2 separate regions of the Homo sapiens genome follow, and region 1 is linked to region 2. The links are contacts of gene promoters, found by promoter capture Hi-C in human tissues and cell types (Jung and others, 2019). All regions are on one chromosome and are shown on one strand. Each heading gives the region's core, a stretch centred on a gene start or on the middle of the fragment in contact. The rest is flanking DNA. Distances are from core to core; before and after follow the strand shown.

The links. Contacts are between HindIII fragments. The study calls those that stand out against the background at their distance.
Region 1: a contact is called between a fragment that was not itself captured here and the fragment with the promoter of ATXN7L1 in region 2, in 3 of the 25 tissues and cell types used here (IMR-90 fibroblasts, mesenchymal stem cells and pancreas).

Annotation. Positions count from the first base shown.
Region 1 is chr7:105,805,960-105,810,355 of GRCh38, reverse strand. All of the region lies in intron 2 of ATXN7L1 (ataxin 7 like 1), which reads left to right. Among named protein-coding and RNA genes, the nearest start is that of ATXN7L1, 68 kb to the left of the region's middle. RefSeq lists enhancers at 1,141-1,250, 1,371-1,440, 2,912-2,961, 3,602-3,651, 3,812-3,981. The HindIII fragment of the contact is 3,708 bases long and covers 254-3,961 here.
Region 2 is chr7:105,874,096-105,877,996 of GRCh38, reverse strand. ATXN7L1 (ataxin 7 like 1) reads left to right here and starts at 1,398. Exons shown (of 12, transcript NM_020725.2): 1 at 1,398-1,619; 2 at 2,117-2,185. The coding sequence starts at 1,439. RefSeq lists a silencer at 1,146-1,355. The HindIII fragment of the contact is 16,114 bases long and covers 1-3,901 here.

The DNA.
Region 1 (4,396 bases), core at 858-3,357, 68 kb after region 2:
TGCCAGTTTTGGTGACTGGTGTTTCCCAAGGGCCTAGAGCAAGGGAGAGCCAGGACTGGGCCCAGGTCTCCCTGGCTCCAAGGCCATCCTCTTCCTGCTGTGAAAGACCACTCTGAACTATACAAGGGTAGATCTCTCCAACACCACATCTCGTTTATCCTCCCTGCCCCATCTTTTGCCATCTTCCTCAGTGACTTCAGTATCTCTGTGAGCCTACTTGCTAAAATAGAAATTTTAAACTGTACAGAAAGAACATGGTGTTATGTTCAAGAGAATGGAGTCTGGGCTGGGTGTGGTGGCTCACACCTGTAGTCTCAACACTTTGGGAGGCCAAGGCTGGAGGATCATTTGAGTCCTGGAATTCGAGGCCAGCCTGGGCAACATAGTGAGACCTCGTCTCTACAAAAAATTTAAAAAATTAGGTGGATGTGGTGGCATGTGCCTTTCGTCCCAGCTACTTGGGAGGCTGAGTTGGGAGGATCACTTGAGCCCAGGAGGTCAAAGCTACAGTGAGCTATGATAGCATAACTATGCTCTAGCCTGGGCAACAGAGTGAGACCCTGTCTTGGAAAAAAAAAAAAAGGAGTCTGGAGCCACTTACACAGCAGGTAAGCATAGGCACCTCACTTCACCTCCCTTTGCCTCAGTTTCCTCATCTATCAAAAGGAGATAATCATGCCACCTTACCTTGAAGGGTTTCTGTGAGGGCTAAATACGTTAATATATGTAACCACTTACCATGGAAACAGTGAGTACCATGTCAGTATCATTGTAAGGATATATATTTGAACCTTGAGGACACTATGCTAAATGAAATAAGCCAGTCATAAAGGACCAATACTGCCTGATTCCACTGATATGAGGTATCTAAGGCAGTTGACTCGTAGAAGCAGAACATAGAATGGTTGAGTGCCAGGGGCCGGAGGAAGGAGGAAGTGAGGTTGCTGCTCAGTGGGCGTGGAGTTTCAGTAGTGCAAGCTGAGTCAGTTCTAGAGATCTGCTTTACAACAGTGTGCTTATGGTTAACAATACTGTACTATACACTCACAGATGTGTTAAGACAGTAGATCTCATGTTATATGGGGCTTTTTAAACCACAACTTGTTTTTTAAAAAGGATGTAATATATTAGTCACTAACCCTTTGTTTTATTGAATTTTCTCAAGGTTAAGGGACTTACCCAAGTGCTCGCAGCTTATAAAGGAAAGAGGGTGACAAGAATGAAGCCTCTGACTTCCAGGGCTCTTTGTCCTGCTCCAAGTCAGGCATTAGTTCTGTCTGTCAAAATCCAGATTATCAAAGGACCATAGTATAAAAGGGCTCTGCAATATGGGGAGGTGCATCCACGCTTCTTTGGGAGAAACGCCTCACATGTTGGCTTCATAAAACTCTTCTATGCCCCGTAGGTTGGACAATGAGAAATAAATAATCCAGACATTGGTGTTTTTGATAGGTGGTTAGAGCTTCCCCAACAGGGGGAGTAAACAAAAGAACCATCTTAATTTCAAGCTTAGTTAGAACTACGGAAGACTAAAAGTCATTTTTCAAAATGGTGGGTGGTGCCAGGGCTCTATCCCCACCTGGAAGGGGCACTTGATCTGTAAAAGCAGCAAAAATAATTGTGTCTTTTATGTCACTTAGGTAGAAGCTCCTGTCCCAATTAATTCTTATCTCCTCCTCCCTTTATAAATATGCTTGGGCAAAGTGACATCCTAGCAGTTTTTTGTTTTGTTTTCTCTCTTCTTAACAAGGAATTCTCTCTGCTTAGGCATTTTAGGTGCTGATTTTTCTCATGTCCCAGAGATGCTTCTAATTAGTTGATGCTTCCTTCCCATAATAGTTCACCACAGAGAGTGGATTTGGACTGGAGGAGGGAGCAATTTTGTCATCTTATCAAAGTGCCACTGATCAGGTTGGCTTTCCTGAGTGCTCATTCATTTTTCCGCCTCTCTGGAAACAGAAGCAGCAAGCTCCTTGCTGAGTGGAGCTGGAGGTTTTTGGGTTTTGCTGTCTCCCCAGTGCTTCCCAGCACCCTTTGATGAAATGCTGCCTCAGAGTCTTTGCAGTAGGGCTCACTAGAGAAATTATCTTTTTCCTTTCACATCAGTGGAAAAACACTTGGCTGGGGACAAATGGCAAAAGCATGCCACTGTCACCTTGTCCCTAAGTAACCTGGCACCCACCAGGGCTGCCTGCAGGCCCTGTGTGTCCTGGGGAGAAGGTATATAAAGGCCTCTTCCTTTTCCTGCTTTCTAGGAGCAGAGTGACCCTCCAGGCCAAGGACAGTGCTGTATTCTTGGGTGGTTCTGACATTGCAGAAAGAGTCTGTGGACACTAGAGATCCAAGAATTATCCTCCAGTGCTTCAGAGCTGGAAGGAGATGCTAGCTCAGGCCTCTTTAAGGACTTGTATCAGTTAGCTAGCTTTTGCTGTGCAACAAACCACCCCAAAACTTGATGGCTTAAGACAGTAAACATTACTTACTATGATTCTGTGGGTCTTCTGGGTGTTTCTTCTGGTGCGGATAGCGCAGCCCAGGCTGGATGGTCAAAGAGGCCCTCCCTCACCTGTCTGGTGGTTGGGAGGCTGCTCGGTCTGGAGAGGTCTGGGCAGGAACAGCTCACCTGTGCTCCATGTGGGTCCGTCCATGCTACTGCAGCCCAGCCCGGGCTTTCCACATGAGGGTTCCAAGGAGAACAAGAGAGGGCACACAAACCCAGTGCATAAGTATTTTATAAGTGTCTGTCACAGTTGCTAATGGTCTGTTGGCCAAAGTAAGTCATGTGACTGAGCCCAGAATCAATGTGAAAAGGGGGAACCCAAGGGTGTGAAGATTGGAAGGTATAAACAACTGGGGGGCCATTCCTGCAACAGCCTACCCAGGAGTGCCGCGTCAGAAGGTGTGTCCTGTTCTCGCCCTGCATGGGTTTGTGTCAGTGTGGGGCAGCTCTTTCAAGGAAGAAATGAAAGGCTCTTTTGAGGCAGGGAAGTGCAGTGGAGTTTGACACACAGTGTTCAAATTCTGCACAGCATTTACCAGCAGTATGACATCAGGCAGGTGACTTGACTTTTCTAAAGCCTGGGTTCTTCACCTCTAAGCTGGGTCTGGTCAAGTTTCCCTCATGAGGTTCTTCAGGACACTAACTGATGTTTGTGGAGCAGGGTGTGTGGCATGTGGTCAGCACCCAATGTAGCTGGCATTGTGGTGGGGCAGCAGAAAGGCAGCTATGCTGGGAAGTTGGACAGTGCCAAATCCTGGGGCAACAGGTGGTCATCCATGCACAGGAAGCTTGGCTGGACACCTGGATGGCAGCGTGCCCTGGCCCAGGAGGCCAGGTGAAGATGGCAAAAGGGAAAAGAAGGCTCTGCTGGCTTCTTGCAGACTAAAGCCCTGTTCACATATTTGTTGTTTAAAATTGAAACAAGTAAGTCACCCTTTCTTGGTTGTACATCCCCCCACAGCAACTGCCAGTTGACTTCCACACCCTATTTTTTCCCCAGAGCTTTCACTCCTTGTCAGAGGTGTTGAACACTGCAGTGCTTCCCACGTGGCTTCTCTGTGCCTCTGACTCTGTTGCTGGGTCCTCCTGGGCACTTCCTCATGACTCACCTCCTCCCTCTGCGAGCGTTCCTCTCAGCTTCCTTCACTGGCCCCTTCCCTCCTCTCATCTTCTTGTTATTTATTGGTGTTCCCCAAATTCTAGCCTTAACCCTGTTGTCAGACAACACTGTTTCACAGGGAGACTGTGCACAACCCCAGCTTGGCCCCCGCTTGCTCATGATGTCCCCACTCTGTCTCTCTGGCCCCAGCTTGCCTCTTGGACTGCAGATCAGTTTCTCACACTTAGTAGGCTGCAAAACAAAGCTCTCCTCCCCATATGTCCTCAGTCTGCTCGGGCTGCTATAAGAAAGTACCATAGCCTGGGTGGCTTAAACAACTGAGGTTTATTTCTCACAATTTTGGAGGCTGACACCCACGATCAGGGTGCCCGCATGGTGAGTGGACGGGTGCTCACTGGGCAGAGAGGGCCCTGGTGTCTCTTCCTTTCCTTACAAGGGCACTAATCCCATCATGGAGCTCCACTTTTAGGTCCCCATGTAAACCTCATCATTCCCCAAAGGTCCCATCTCCTTATACCACCTCACTGGGTGCTAGGGTCTCAGTACATGAATCCAGGGGGACGCAGTTCAGTCTCTAGCACCATGTAACCTGCATTCCCATCTGTCTTCCCCTCTTCCTGGTAGGCCAAGCCAGAAAGCTCTAAGTCATTTCCCACAGTGGTCAGTTCCAAATAAATGTCTCTTGGGTCCTGCGTCCTCTCTGTCCCTGCAGCCCCAGACCCTGCAGCAGCCCTCTCACCTCCAGCCTTGTTCCAGCAAGCTCAGCATTGCTTCCA
Region 2 (3,901 bases), core at 149-2,648:
AGCCGACTCACACAAACATCACAACTAAAGGCAAATCCGCAGCTCCTCCTTCATCGCCCATCCTAACACTGGCTTAGCGATACAGGGTGCCAAGCTCAGGGAAATTATTAGATGGTTCAGCCAGGGCAGAACTCAGTCAGTACAAAGCAACTTCCAATCAGTGCGCTTCAGCTGTGACAACTTGGGAAACAGCAGTGGTGAGAGCTAAAAGGGTGCTGGCGAAAGAGAAAAAAAAATATGTCGCTTGTGGGGTGAGGGCGGTGTCCATATAGTTTAGATAATTCTAGTAAACAAAAGGATTTGTTAAAAAGAAGTAACAGAAGACTTTTTAAAGCCTTCTTTAAAGGGTGAAAATCTCAACTAAAGCACCCAACGTCCAAAATCCAGAGGAAATCTAGCGCTCCCTTTCTAGCTGGCTAGAGCAGTTAAGCCTGAAGTGAATTCTCCCAGGAATCAGATTCCTGGCCAAAGGTTGCCTGCGCAAACCCGGGCCACCCTCGTCTCACGGCAGGGAGCGCTGGAAACGGCTCAGGGGCTAGGCCCGTTAGCGTCGTCTTCCAAGAGCCGTAAATTCGCCCTCCCGCTCTGCTGACCCTGGAGCAAAGTCCATGCAGTGGTTCTCTGAGAGCCGGAGATACGCACCGCGCGGGGAACCCGGGGGTCCGGGGGCCCTAACTTTTGAGTTTTGCACGCCCCGCAGCCTGAGATGGGAAGGTAGCTCGTAGCGCTCCAAACTCACCTGCGTTTCAGAACGACATCTACCCACTGGTTTCAGCTCCTAGAGCAACAACTGCAGAATCTCCATGGTCCAAAGTCCTCCAGGAAAGAGAAGAAAGGGGTGACGGGGGTGAGGGCTGGGAGGCGAGGTCACCAGGGTCCCTTCCCTGGCTCGGGTGGGGGTGGGGGGCGCAACCCCTCACGGCTCCTCCCCACCAAGCCGTCGGGACCCCAGCGGGGGCGCCTCGCGTTGGGCGACAGGGACGCGGGGAGAGAGCGACAAGCTGGAAGCAAGGGCTGCCTGCAAAACTTTCGGTCCTCCAGCGGCAACTCTGCGGGAAAGACCACCCTTCCTTCGGCCCCGCGTCGGGCCTATCCCCGTGTGCCCCGACCCCTGCGCCCCAGGCTTGGGCGGCGCCGCTGCATCCCGGCTGCCGGGCGCGCTGCAGCCTTCGCTCTCCCGCACGCGGCGCTCGCCCGTCCGCGCTGCCCCTCCCCGGCAGGCGGGCGGCCCCGGCGGGCGGGCGGGCGCGGACTGCAGGTGCCTCTCTGCTGCCCCTGGCGGCCGCGGGCGCGCGAGCCCCACCGAGCCGGCTCCGGGAGCCCGAGCGCCCGCCCCTCCTCCGCTCCCTCTCCCCTCCTCCTCCGCCGCCCTCCTCCCATCCCGCCCTTCCTCCCTCCCTCCCCCTTTCAGAACACTCAATGTCGGAACGTTCCGAAGATGACGTCGGAGCGTTCTCGAATCCCGTGTCTCTCGGCTGCTGCTGCCGAAGGAACAGGGAAAAAGCAACAAGAAGGAAGAGCAATGGCGACACTGGATCGCAAAGTGCCCAGTCCGGAGGCGTTTCTGGGCAAACCCTGGTCCTCCTGGATCGACGCCGCCAAATTACACTGCTCCGACAGTAAGAACCCCACCACCTCCTCCTCCTTTTATTATCCTGTAACCTTTCCATTCACCTAGAGCCACTGGGAAAAAGTGTGTGTGTGAGAGAGAGAGTGGCCCCCGGTGTCCTCCATGCTTCTCCCTCTCTCTCTAAATAAATACACACAGAGACAGATCATCAATGCACAGGGAGAGGCCCGGCTGCCAGGGCTGTCTGTCTGTCTGTGCCCGGCTCCCCGTGGCAGCCCGCGGGGTGGGCTCGCAGCCCCACGGTGTTGTCCGTTTAAAAGGCTACTTTGTTGCTGCTTGCATAGTTTTTTGGGTACCTATCTGGGCCAGGTAGATGGAAACCCAGACTTGGGAGAAAATGTTGCATTGTCAATTTTTGAAAGAATTTCATATACAGTATTTATATCGATCTGTTTGCAAATAAACACTCTCCCTCCCCCCTTGACTTTGGCTTTTTTCCCCCCTTTTTTCCTTATTTTCTGTTTTCCTTTTCTTTTTCATCTGCAGATGTAGATTTAGAAGAGGCTGGAAAAGAGGGTGGAAAAAGCAGGGAGGTTATGAGGCTTAATAAAGAAGGTAAGTGGAGCTACTGGCATTTTAGTGTTAGCATGTGTGGCAGAATCTTCACAGGATTTCGAATATAATGTGAATTGTTCTGCTGGGTACAGAGTGACTAAGGCTTGTCAAAAATTGAGCACGCCCAGGTGACTACTGCTTCATGTTAACTTCTTTCAAAGTATAAATACAACTGGGGGGGGGGTAAAGGGGGGTGAGACTGTTGAAGGCAGAAGTTTACTGCACTTCAGTTGGACTCCACGTTTGAACCTTCTGATGCATATCTGCCATTCTCCTTGGGAGCATCATTGCCAAATGGTGGGGCGTTAAAATTTCTGAAATGAAGAGTGGAGTTCCCTTCACAAGCATCCCAGCCTTTCTCGTGGGTGAATGCACAACAGCTTAATGAACCCCACATGGTCAGTCATTCCAGCAGCTACTTCTCCACTCACCACTGAAAACCATTGTACATGGCAAACCTTTGCAGCAAGTTACATTTGGCCCACTTTGCATTTGGTCACAGATTGTTATGTGGCAAGCAGGGTTAGGAGCATCTGTATGTGCAGCCCCTCAGCAGTCATCATCTCTCTTTTCCCAGCATGGAAATACGGTACCTGAAATGGGACACACTGAGTAGATAGGTCATCCCAGACCAAGATATGCAAGAGAAGCCACAACCTGCTGCAATTGGGCATCAAACACATATGGTCGTCATAAATAAATCATATCCTGTTCTCATTTGCAAGCCTGCCGTATGTAACTCTGGCCTATGGGCTTCAAATGGAGCAACTCCGGGGGCCACTTGCTGCTAAGCAAATAGGTGGATTCATTTGAATTGTGATTCACTAACTGATGTCTTATAAACATAATTGGCTGAAATTGGGGGTGGGAAGATGGCACAAGGGGACAGAAGAGGTTGGTGGTATTGAAAGAGTTCAGACATAAGTAGGCCATAGGTGCATTGGTCATCCCAAATGAATGGAGAAAAGGCCATTAGATGCCAAAGAATGGTCCCCCTCATAAAAAGGGATGTCACCCTGGAAGGCAGCTGAAGCCTGCGTGGAAAGATGGAACTCATTTTATGAATCAACACTTCAGATGGTTGGTTTTCTGTGCCCAATCATTTCCTGACCATCCACTGAGAGGAAATTTTGTGCTTCAGAAAAAATAACATGAAGGTTAAAATGCGTACATATTCAAGGACAGTTCCCTAGCATAATGTTTCTGCTAATTAAGCACTTTGGGAACAAAACATTATTCTAAAGATGTTTGCTTCTAAATATCTTAGTGTGATCTTGACAGGTGTCTTCAGGATGCACGAGGGATTGATGTCAAGTGGACTTCTTACAAGTGGCAGCTTATTTGTGTTAAATGTTCATGTGTGTTGGCAGTGGGAAGCATCACTAGAGATTATTTTTCTTCACACACAAACTCTTGAGATCTCTAAGTGCTTGCAAGACCCAGTTATCAGGCTACTGGCAACGTGTCCATAAAAGATGATGAGGCTGTGGAAATCTTTAAATTAAAGTTGAGTAAAGGTCATGGTATAGCACAGGATTGTCACCTCTCAGGTCTGGGTGATGCGTTATGACTATCACACACAAAACTCACATCCTTTCCCCCCAGTCCCTGTTTCTATTTCAGAAGACTGTTGTTCTCAGATTCTCTTTGCCTCATGAGAAACAGATTTTTTTTTTTTTTTTTTTTTTGATACGGATTCTCACTCTGTCGCCAGGC